Regions from separate parts of the Homo sapiens genome. Here all the other regions are linked to region 3. Evidence: promoter capture Hi-C in 16 types of primary human blood cells and fetal thymus (Javierre and others, 2016). All regions are on one chromosome and are shown on one strand. Each heading gives the region's core, a stretch centred on a gene start or on the middle of the fragment in contact. The rest is flanking DNA. Distances are from core to core; before and after follow the strand shown.

Evidence for each region. The method cuts DNA at HindIII sites, captures the fragments that hold promoters and counts their contacts. A CHiCAGO score of 5 or more calls a contact.
Region 1: a fragment that was not itself captured here is called in contact with the fragment with the promoter of RNF146 in region 3 in 1 of 17 cell types (fetal thymus); the score reaches 7.5 in fetal thymus.
Region 2: a fragment that was not itself captured here is called in contact with the fragment with the promoter of RNF146 in region 3 in 1 of 17 cell types (total CD8 T cells); the score reaches 5.7 in total CD8 T cells.

Annotation. Positions count from the first base shown.
Region 1 is chr6:130,018,775-130,022,539 of GRCh38, forward strand. L3MBTL3 (L3MBTL histone methyl-lysine binding protein 3) reads left to right here. Exons shown (of 23, transcript NM_032438.4): 2 at 3,453-3,531. Among named protein-coding and RNA genes, the nearest start is that of L3MBTL3, 2.1 kb to the left of the region's middle. RefSeq lists silencers at 287-416, 1,367-1,606, 1,657-1,726 and an enhancer at 2,087-2,146. The HindIII fragment of the contact is 3,997 bases long and covers 1-3,363 here.
Region 2 is chr6:129,490,497-129,494,411 of GRCh38, forward strand. It overlaps LAMA2 (laminin subunit alpha 2), which reads left to right. Exons shown (of 65, transcript NM_000426.4): 57 at 1,405-1,581; 58 at 1,819-1,987. It overlaps LOC102723409 (a long non-coding RNA gene), which reads right to left. Exons shown (of 8, transcript XR_001743860.2): 8 at 1,986-3,796. Among named protein-coding and RNA genes, the nearest start is that of ARHGAP18, 220 kb to the right of the region's middle. RefSeq lists an enhancer at 76-1,275. The HindIII fragment of the contact is 1,992 bases long and covers 1,482-3,473 here.
Region 3 is chr6:127,265,254-127,268,765 of GRCh38, forward strand. RNF146 (ring finger protein 146) reads left to right here and starts at 1,611. Exons shown (of 3, transcript NM_001242850.2): 1 at 1,611-1,672. RefSeq lists silencers at 1,570-1,669, 1,770-2,039 and an enhancer at 2,240-2,299. The HindIII fragment of the contact is 5,432 bases long and covers 539-3,512 here.

The DNA.
Region 1 (3,765 bases), core at 115-2,614, 2.8 Mb after region 3:
GGAAGGAAGCGCACCCTCGTCTTGTGAAACAGATCAGGGGAGGGGAGGGACAGAAGGGGTTTCTCCCCCACTTCTCTGCGCCTCTGGGAAAGAGGAGAAAACTTAATCCCGGGGAAAAAAGTGGGCAAGTGACTCGGAAACGGCTGGAGGGGGAGTCTCTGGGCATCTCACTCTGAAGTAGTGAGTGCGAGTGTGAAAGAGGAACAAAAGAGAGAGAAAAGAGAAAGGAAAAAATGGGGGGAGGAGAGACTTGTATTTTTTTCTTTGCGCGCACACGGGGAAGGGTGTGGGGGGCCGTGCGGAAGGGAGCCGGGGCGAGGCGGCCGCGTTGGGCTCAGGCTGGCGCGCAGGCGGCGGGATGCGTGTGGCCCCCTCCCCCGCGCCCCCCGAGCTTGTCACTTTGGTCGCTTTCGTGACACCGGGCGCGGGGTGGGGGAGCGCGGCGGCGCCGGGCTCCACCGGGGTGCGTGTCCGGGTGGGCGCCGCGGAGCCGCAGCCCAGGCGGCGAGCGCGGCCGCCGAGGCGGGGGGCGCCGGCGGGGGGCGCGGGGGCGGCCGGGGCCGCGGATCGGTGCGGCGGGAGGCGCGAGCCCCGCGCGCCGCCCCTGCGGCCCCCTCCGCCCGTGTGGCCTTTGTGCCGGGCGCGCACCGGAGAGCGAGCGAGCGGGCGGGCGAGCGCGAGAAGTACAAGTACGGGAGACCGAGGCAGTGGGAAAAGAGGCCGGGCCACTTTCTCCCCTTTCGGGCTGCGGAGAATGGACTGGTTGAATGTGCAGGCGCGTCTCCCCGGCGTGTGCTGTGTGTGTGCGCGGCGGAAAGGCCTGCCCGACTCCCACCGCGCACACGCACACTCACACGCACGCACACACACGGACCCGCGGCGGGGCTCGGCGGCCGAGAGTTTGCGTGGCTTCCTCGCCGCCTCCCTCTTCCCAACCGAGTGTGTGAGAATTTCATATAGATCAGCTCCAATTTCCGCCATTTTGGGAAAGTTGCACAAAAATAAACCCTCCGGTTTATTTCTGCCCGAGGCAGGAAAGTGCTTTGGGAAGCGAGGCGGCGCGGGCCCGCGGCGGCCGTCCGCGCGGGAGAGGGCGCGGGCCGCGGGCCGGGCCGGGAGCCCGCGCCGTCGCGGCGTTCGCCCCGCGCCGTGCCGCGCCGCGCCGGCCCGGGTGCGGGCGCGGGCGCGGGCGTGTGTCGGGAGGCGGCGGCGGCGGTCGCGGCGGCGGCGGCCGCGCCGGGGCGGCGGGCTTGTGGGGGGAGGGTGGGGGCGGCGCGGGGCTGCTTTTCCTGCAACTTGTTTACGCCTGCCTTATTCTGGGGAGGAAAAGAGGGGTCGGGGCCGGGGCCGGCGCCGGGGCCACCGCCCGCCTCGCGCCGCGTGTGTGTGCGGTTCCGGAATAATGGGCTTTGCACACTCGCGTCCTGGGCCCCGCGGGCCGTCCTCGCGCCGCGGCGGCGGGGCGGGGGGAAGTAGAGGCCGGCGGGGGTGGGGATCGGGAAGCGCAGGAGCCGAGGCATCCGCCGCGCGCCCCGCGAGCTGGTGGAGTGTGGGGGCCGCCGGGCGGGGAGAAAAACTTGAGAGCCCTGGAAGGGGAGGAGGGCACGGTGGCACGGGCGGGGGGAGGGCGCAACTTTTGGACTGGTGGTAAAACTTTAATTACCTTTAAAGAAAAAAAGGCCCTGCGATTCCCCCCTCCCCCAGTCCCGGTCAAAGCACAGCCCGCAGCGCGACCGTGAGAGAAAGTTTAAAAGCGGGCGTGTTCCTCCCGGGTCCCCGCGGAGGGCTGGGGGCGTCGGTCTGTCCGTCGCGCTCAGAGGGAGGTGGGGGTAACTAGCCGCTTTCCAGGGCGCGGGGACCGCGGCTCTACCCCACCCTTCCACGGGAGACGGAGGTAAACGTTGCTTCGGTTTCCCTTCTGAGTCCCCCTGCTGCCACCACCCCGCTTCCTTTTCCTCCCCCTCCCCGCCGATTTTTTGAGGGGACCCGAAAAACGGAGTCCCTTTCCTTAGGCAACTTCCTCGGGCGCTGTGAGCACGGCCCTCCCCCTCACCGCCCCCACCCCCAACGCCTCGCATCCCTTGGCCCGCTTCTCCACCTCGGGGCCACCGCCAGAAAAATGCATTCGAGATCATTCAGAGTGCACAGAAACAAAAATAGATTTTTAATTGTTAGGTTAGGGGAAACTGAGATGAGAAATAAGAATTTGGGGTGGGGGGGCGCGGCCGGGGCGAGTGCGTCCAGTTCTCCTTTTGGTTTTCCTAGAGCGTTGTTTGTGATGTCTTTATTGGTTTAGGGAGTCCGAGAGGCTCTATGCTGGCTATCTCGGTCGCGTGGATTTTTGCGCAAGTTTTTAGAAAAACACTGACTCGAGTAGAGAGCATTTCTCCGGAAAGTTTCAAGTGCAGCAAAATAGCGAACGTGCAAAACTGGCCAAGGGGAGACCTCTAGTGGTTGAACGCGTCTTTTAAGTTCGGAAGGCCGAGAGCAAAGTTTGGCCTTTACTCGTAGCTACGTAGTCCGTTCAGACGTGGAAGTAATTAGAGGACCTGAGCGAGCAGCCAGATGTTGTGTGAAAGGATGCTGATCAGAAATTGAAAGTTTAGTAAATCGAAGCAATGAATTCTGAGGACTCAGACCCTGTAACTTCCATCCGACATGAGTTATATGGGAAAGACACTTTGCTTTTATTCAGAGATTTGAGATTGATCGCTCCCTGAATTGGAAACAATTGTTTGCTTTTGCATTTATCGGTGTCTGTACCTCTGATCAATTTTTAATTAACGAGTCTCAGCTGATGACTTTATTTTGAATGTTAAGAAAACTGCTAAGTTGAAATGTGTTTAAAACTTTGAAGAAATGGAAAAGACCTTTAGTTGAGATTTGTCTTTTATATGAGCTGTTCATTTTACTGTCTGATAAGTGTAAGGCAATTTTATATAGTTTCTTAGCTGTATAGTTATGTATAGTCCGAGTAAGTAGTCCCTTTTGGTTCTAAGACTGTAATTTTGTTTCACTGAGTACGAAATTATTTCTGAATACTTGTATAATTTGTGATTTAAAGTCCTTAAATACATGGGCAAAAATTTTATGTAATATCTATTCTTTTTCCAGTGTGTTTTCTGTAAAATATCTTTAATTTTAAAGATAAAAGCAGTGAGGGAAATTAAAGTTGACTCAAATGATCCTTGTAACTTTCACCTGCCTGTCATATACAACAGGAGAGACGTTATTGGGTGAATTTAGGACATGGGAATGATACGAATGATTAAAATCCATTTCAACTCATCTAGAACCAGCTTATTTTATTTTAATTTACCGAGTGGCATGGTGTAAAATTATGCCTAAGTGATTCAGAATGTAAGCTTCTTAACTGGGGATGGTGGATTTGAAGGTTTCTTTTTGATGACAGTGTTTTGATTTTACCTTCCCTCTCTTTAAACCAATGCTAGAACCCTTAGGAGAAATCTTGAGAGTGGACAGCAATTGTGAAGATCGCCAGAGAGTTCTGTGTTTCATCACCGCCGAAAGGTAAGACCCACTTGTTGAAATAAATTGCTTGACATACCTGCAAATGTTAAAAAGCTGCATTTGGAGATCAGGAAGGAGAGTATGAGACTGGGTTGGCAGAAAAACATCATTTTGTGGGGCTGCTTTGAATGCATGAATGTATTGACACTAAATGTAATTGTAGTTTGGATGAAACATTAGGAAGTTAGGAGATTGTCCTGGATAATCTTTGTATTGCCTTACTTACTAGATTCT
Region 2 (3,915 bases), core at 1,228-3,727, 2.2 Mb after region 3:
AAATTCTAATCAAGAACAGAGATTTACTCTCCTTGGACAATCTTTAACAGAGGCTTATATCCTTCATTAAAACCTTAGAAGCCCTGTGATATCATGTTGCTAAGAAGAGGCTGCTTTCAGCTAAAGGGGAAAAAGAGTGTAGGGGAGGGGCTTCTCAGTGAGTCACACATACCCGGAAGTGAGTGGTTTTCTGAAATTCTCGTCTCAGGAAACCACCGACACTCTTAGCAAGGAAGCTGAACCTCCTGGGTTTTGCCAACACATTTTTCCATAGTTTGGTAAAGAAAGAAACCTCAAAAGTATGTCATTTCCCCCTATTTTCTCTTTGAAACTAAATTTTACCGGTCCCTTCTTCACCCCCTTAACAGTGACGTTTTTGAGCCACAGCGAAATCCATTTTTTGTCCCTTTCTCTTACTTTTGAATTATCTTACTTGTAAAGTGCCAATTCAGAGCATCTTTACCCTGGCTTATTGTTTTTTCCAGTTCTACATGTGGTTTTACTTCTTTATAAAGTCAAGTAAGAGGGTACTTTAGGACTGAGGTTTCCATCCAAGTACTCCGGTTTTCTCTCCAGATATGAAGTAAGTTTTCAGTAATCCATTCATGATCCCCAGGCTAGTGACTAATGCTTATGACTAATAGCACCATGATGACTGTTAAGACCGAAACTCAAAACTTGCTTCCGGAACAAAAGAGAAAATGCCTTTGGTCATTTTCATCAGAACTCTTTGTCTCCTTCTGATTCTTGGCCCAGGGATCCAAGGATTGTTGTAAATAAGTAGCATGAGGTTCTCAATTAGCAGTGTGTGAGTTCTCTCTCATAAGCAAATTAGGAAAATTAATGAAACAGCCACTAAGGAAAATCATTGCAAGGAACAATTAGCAGGGTGTCCTTGCCTGCCTCTTCTATTCAAAAGCCATCAGCTACATTCTTTATAAAAGGTGCTTTAAGTGTTTGCTGTTGATTCCTGCAATCTAAGCTCTCAGGAGCATGGTTTGTTCCCTAGCAAGAAGATAATAGCCAGCACAACCCAAGGAAGACCCCATGCTTTGCTAAACCTGCCAACCCTTATACGGTTAGACATTACTGCACACTGCAGAAGCCTCAGTTCTCACAGGCTCATGTGTTGGGCTGCACAGCGCTGTTGTCAGCTCTACAAGAGGCTAATGTTGCAGTGCGCCATGACCTGGTTTCAGTAAACTTTCAGGAAGAGTGAACGAGGGAGTCATGGAACGAGATCCTGAGAACAGCGTTTGCTTAGTGTAGAATTCCTAAGCATCCAATTTTGGCTCCCTTAAAAGCTATGGTTGAGAGGGGTGAAGGGTGGCAGGAAAGAATTTGATTTCCAACTGTATTGAATCAGATGTGACTTATACTTGTTTATTTTTAATATTTTATCAGCATCTTTACAGTTCAAGTGGATGAAAACAGAAGATACATGCAAAACCTGACAGTTGAACAGCCTATCGAAGTTAAAAAGCTTTTCGTTGGGGGTGCTCCACCTGAATTTCAACCTTCCCCACTCAGAAATATTCCTCCTTTTGAAGGCTGCATATGGAATCTTGTTATTAACTCTGTGTAAGTGGATCTCCTCATTACTACTACTAATTTTTTATTTTTATTTCTTGCTATTAGGGGTCCCAATGCATCTACATTGTCTACAGCTATGCAGGGGAGGAGGGAAACAATGAGGATCTTCAACTTAGACTGAGAAAAGCACACTAATGGACTTAAAAAGGCATGCGGGGATTGGGCTTAATTGTAAGGAAGCAAAAAAACGAAAATAAAAAAATCTTATTTATTACATTCTATTAGCCCCATGGACTTTGCAAGGCCTGTGTCCTTCAAAAATGCTGACATTGGTCGCTGTGCCCATCAGAAACTCCGTGAAGATGAAGATGGAGCAGCTCCAGCTGAAATAGTTATCCAGCCTGAGCCAGTTCCCACCCCAGCCTTTCCTACGCCCACCCCAGTTCTGACACATGTAAGTGTTTATATTATCCCCATTGCTTTCTAATTTTTACCCAGTATTCTGAGTCATTTCAGAAGGAAGATTATTCAGGATATCTAGTACACTCTGATATTAGAATTGAAAGAAATATAACCTATCTAAACCTATTCTTACATCTTCATTGAATGACTTACCTATATTTCCATCTTCAATTTTGTTTACAAAACAGTACATTTTCAGTTGAAATGTTGGAAAACACAGAAATATCCAGAATCATGAATAAAAGACACTTATAATACCATGACAGAGGCAACCATGTTGGTTTCCAGGCCCTTTTATCTGCATAGTAGATGTCCTACCTTGTATACAATTTGGTGTCCTGTTTTTAGAAACTAGTAATACACCACTAAAACTGTTTCTAGGCCAGGCGCGGTGGCTCACGCCTGTAATCCTAGCACTTTGGGAGGCCAAGGCAGGCAGATTGCCTGAGCTCAGGAGTTCGAGACCAGCCTGGGCAACCACGGTGAAACCCCGTCTCTTCTAAAATACAAAAAAATAGCCTGGCATGGCGGTGTGCACCTGTAGTCCCAGCTACTCAGTAGGCTGAGGCAGGAGAATCGCTTGAACCCAGGAGGCGGAGGTTGCAGTGAGCCGAGATCACGCCACTGTACTCCAGCCTGGGCAACAGAGCGAGACTCCATCTCCAAAAAATAAAAATAAATAAATAAATAAAAACTGTATCTAAACATCATATAAATGTGTATGTCTAATATGATTTTATGTTAAGTATATATACACACAGAGACACACAACTATTTTATAGTATTGGAGGTCATATAGCCTTGATTAGAGCATGGGCTCAAGTCAGACTGCTGGTATTCAAATCCCAGCACTGTAACCGACCATCTGTGTGAATTTGGGAAAGCTACCTGTCCAATCTATTTCTCAGTTTCCCATCCAAGTACTAACCGGGCCCAACCCTGCTTAGCTTTTGAGATCAGAAAAGATCGGATGCTTTCAGGGTGATTTGGCCATAGACTATTTCTGTTTCCTCATCTGTCAAATGAGGATATTAACAGCACAGACATCAAAGACTTTGTATCAGAGTTTTAAAAGATAATGTTTGTTCAATGACTCACATATACTGAACGTTTAATAAATGGCATAAGTACTATGTAGTAATGATAATAATGAGTACTTTCACCAGCCCAGGGCTAAACAATTTTCATTCAATATTATATGTAATTCTCATAACGGCTCTGTAAAATATAGTCTTTCTACTTTTAGTCGAGTTAATAAGAATTAGCTATCTTAAGCAACCAACCCACTCACACCACTAGTAAAAGGCAGAGTAAGAATTTTATTCTAGCGAGTCAGACTCCAAAGTCTGACTCCTTATCTCTGGAACACTCTGCCTTTCCAATTTATTCTACTTTTAATAGACCATGGTAGGCTATTGAGAGTGTTTCCAGTTTTTCACTATTAGAAACTATACTCTGATGAGCTCCTCTATGCATCAAGCTTTTTCATTATTTCCAGTTATTCTTAAAATAGATAAGTAGTTAGGAAATTATAAGGCCAAAAGATGAATATGTCTAAGGTTTTCAATACACATACCTGAATTGTTTCTTCCACAGGCTATGCCAATTTACATTCTTATCACCAATACAACAAAGATGGTCACAGTCACTACACTCTTTACAGCTCATGTGTTGTGGTTATATTCCATACCAGTAATGGGTGGGCAATGTTGTCTTGAGTGCAGATCTTGAAAACTCTTGAATATCTCATTCTCTTCCTTAGTGTCCACGATGGAATTGGTTGAGCAATGTGCTCCTTGCACTAGAAATAGTTATTCAATGAGAGGCCAGATAACCATCATTCAAGAAAACTGGTTATTTACTCCAAGCATCCTTTCATCCTTTGTAAAATAGAGATATTTCATCTATCTTGCCTACAAC
Region 3 (3,512 bases), core at 361-2,860:
AAGGATAGAGTCAAAAGACTAGTTCCTGGTCTACCGTAACACTATAATCCAAACAAGAGATGATGCAGATTGTAGCGGAGGTGGTAAGTAGTTGGATATACTTTGAAGGAAGAGCCAACAGGTTATATGCCAAATGCATATAAGACATAAAAGAGAGGAGTTAAAGGTGGGTTTGAACAAGGAAAGATGCAACCATTTACTGAAATACAAAGACCTTGGGTATGAGTGAGAAGGGGTTGAACTAGCTGACATCTTACAGTCTGTGCCTGGATTCAAATCTCAGCTGTGTGTGTCTCTCTCTCTGTAAAATGGGAATAATAATAGTGCCTACCTCATAGTTTATTATGAGAATTAAGTGGGTATATATGAATAAAGCACTTAGAGCAACACCTGGCACATTGTTAGTTAATATTAGCATTACCTCTTCAAGCTGGAATCTTCGAGTACATATCAAATTTTAGCTATTCTCTGTTCATGGGCTGTGTAGGATAGAGGGACAAAACTGAGTGGCTAATAAGAAGATAAAGATAGAAAACTAAGCTTAAAGTTAAAGGATATACACTTCAATATTTCTACATGTATGGAACAGTATTGCATACACGCGCAAGCATCACTGAACTAGATGCACCCTTCAAGAGATTGGGTTACATATTGATATATATGAATGAGAACCCTGAAATAAACTGATTTCAGAGGAATAACAGAAAACATATACATTTCTATACCTATAAGGACACTGAAAACTTCCAATCCTGAATCAAACAGTTAATGAAATCCCAAAATGCAACACTAATGCAAATGAGAAGACGCTGTCATAGAATGTTGAAATACATACTCTTCTAAAGATAAAAGGTCTGCTCTTCCACCCTCTTCATTTTCCTACAAATTAGGAAAATTTAATCAGTTCTGAAAAAGGAAATGTACATGCTAAAATGGTGAATTACTGCTAGAGTTCTGATGTTTAAAACCACAGGCTTGCGATCAAAATAACCTCTTTAATTTTAGATTATCATGCAGATTAATTTCTTCAGTTTCTCAGGCACTATTCTGTTTTTTTTAAAAAAAGGGTGGGGTTTCAAAAGAAAACTAATACTCATTTTTTCCCCGATTAAATTGCTCAACCATTAAAAAGGAGAACAAATTGGAAAGTCCTACAGTACTCTCTCCCCTCCGTCCCCCCCCTCCCCATTTTTTTTCTTGAAAGGGAACAAGCAGTACTTTTGCTAAGGGATCTTTAAGCCGAAACTCAGCTAGGCGCCCCAGAGCTTCCTCAGGATAGCAAAGCTGGATTTTTGAGCAGCACCACCTGCTGGTCCTACACACGTTTTACTTCCTCCACCCCAAATCTCTTTCTGTTGGAACTGCACTCTTTCAGAGCCTCTGGGCCCTAATACAAAGCAAGCACACTCTAAAGAAGCCAGAAGAATGCAAGCAGCGAAGTCGCCGCTCCCCACAGGCAAGAGAGTACCGGCAGACAGCGGCGCGAGACAGGGGCAGAACGATGAGGCGCCGGAGTTAGCTCGCCGGTGCGGGTGCGGGTGCGCGGCGCGTCGCGGCCCCTCCTCCGCGACGCGCCGGGTGGTCACGTGACGGCCGCGCGCGTTCCCGGCAGCTGCGGGCTCCGAGGCCAGAGAGAAAAGACTGCGAGGTGGCCGCAGCTGTGGCCGGAGAGGTGGGAGTCGGAGCGAGGCCCTCTCGGGGGAGCAGGGTGAACGCCGGCCACTCTAGGATCCTCACTCGGGGAGAGGAGGCATAGCTCGCGGTGTCACCTCCAGCCGCAACGTACTCCGGGTCGGCCTTGCGCTCGGGGCCTGAGAGGGGCGGCGGCGGGGTCAGGGGCCGGTACGTAGATGGACGCCCTTGGGCTGGCGCGGCCCCGGCTGTCCGCGCAGAGGCGGGATGGGACAGTTCAGCCCTTTCCGCCACCCCCGCCTTGGCTGCTGGGGCAGGCAAGACGACCGTGACAGCCCCTGCGCTGCCCGAGGGCGCCGCAGCCCCTGCCCTGGGTGACGGCCGGAGCTGGTCTCGGTCCGGGTGCGAGGGGCGGAGCAGCGGCCATTACTGCGCAGCCTCTTCCGCCTGAGCCCGCTTCGCTGCCTCGGGTGGCAGGCGGGTCCCTCTCCTCCCCTCTGGGCCGTGGTTTTAGGCCTTTACCCGGGGACCTTCTGGCCTCGAGGTGTAGGGGCGGCGATGGTTTTTCGGCGGTAGCCTGCTCCATGTTTTCCCGTGTGGGGTCAGACAGTTTGGGCCTTGGGTCAGATCGAAGCCAGGGCGTACAGTCTGCATTTTTGCCTTTTCCCGGAGTGTCTCTGGCTGCTGCTTTCTCTTCTCTCGCTCTTCCTCCTTTTTTTTCTCCTGCTCAGTGTCTCGGTCTTGCCTAAAACGAAGAGAGCAATCCCTGCACCTTGTCCTAGTGAAGCCCAGCGCTGCATATTCTTAGTTGTTTTTGACGGCTGTTGAAGCATCGGAACAATTAAGAGATCTCAGAATATCCCTTGAGCCTCCAAACCCTCTGCATCTTAAAAGCTGAGGCTGTTGCTTTGTTCTGATTGTTGGGTGGGGAGTTCTCTTCCTACCCTCCATCCCGTCTGAAGGAGTGTGGGTCTTCCATTGTTGTCGCTATTTATTTTGCTAAGGCTTCTAAAGAATGTAAAATTGTTTTAAGAGTGGAGACGGAACCGTCCTCTCCACAGGTAAAACCTACAGGACTGTAAGTTTACACACACATCCTGGCAACTAGAATCTTTTCTCGTTAATCATATTGGTATATGTTTTAATTTATTTTCTCTAAGTGCCATTTTAGTGAGCACTTATTTCTCAAGTTTTGAACATTTTGTTTAATATTTTTGTAATATCGAAACAGTGTAGAACTGAGGAGAGAAGAAAGCCCAAAGATGATAGGGTACGCTTTGTTCTTTGTATGATTGGCATTTCAGGTAGTGGGCACATCCCCCCCACCTCGTGTGTGTACTTTTCAAATGGGATGTGAACGTATAATATTGGCATTCAATCCAGTATATAATTATAGAATTTGGAAGACTTAGGACATTTTAGTCAGTGAATCTATATTTAGACTTTTCAAAGACATGGCACGTAAGGACACGTGGAGAAAATGTCCCACACAGATAACAGGATTTGTGATTTTGGCTTTGCTGTTTTATGATTAGCAAATATTGTTTGTATAGAGTGTCTGGGTGCCCTAAAAACACATGAAAATAGGTCAACTAAATCTCGTTTTAAAGAGAAAACCGGAAGAGTGAACACCACTCTAAAAATAGATTTTGGATGTGTTTGTTTTGGTGCCTTGTATATCTTAAAGTGGAGGATGTTGTTCAGCCCAATCTTTCATTTAGAATTTATGTCTCAAATGAGCCAGTGTATCATGTGGGCAGACTGGAAATACATTTAAATATTTTTTTTCTTCGCTGGTTGTTCAGAACTTGGTAGAATTATAATTATCAGGAAAACTCTCTCCAAATAGCTGGTCTTTTAGACAAGAGAAGAAAAAAGAA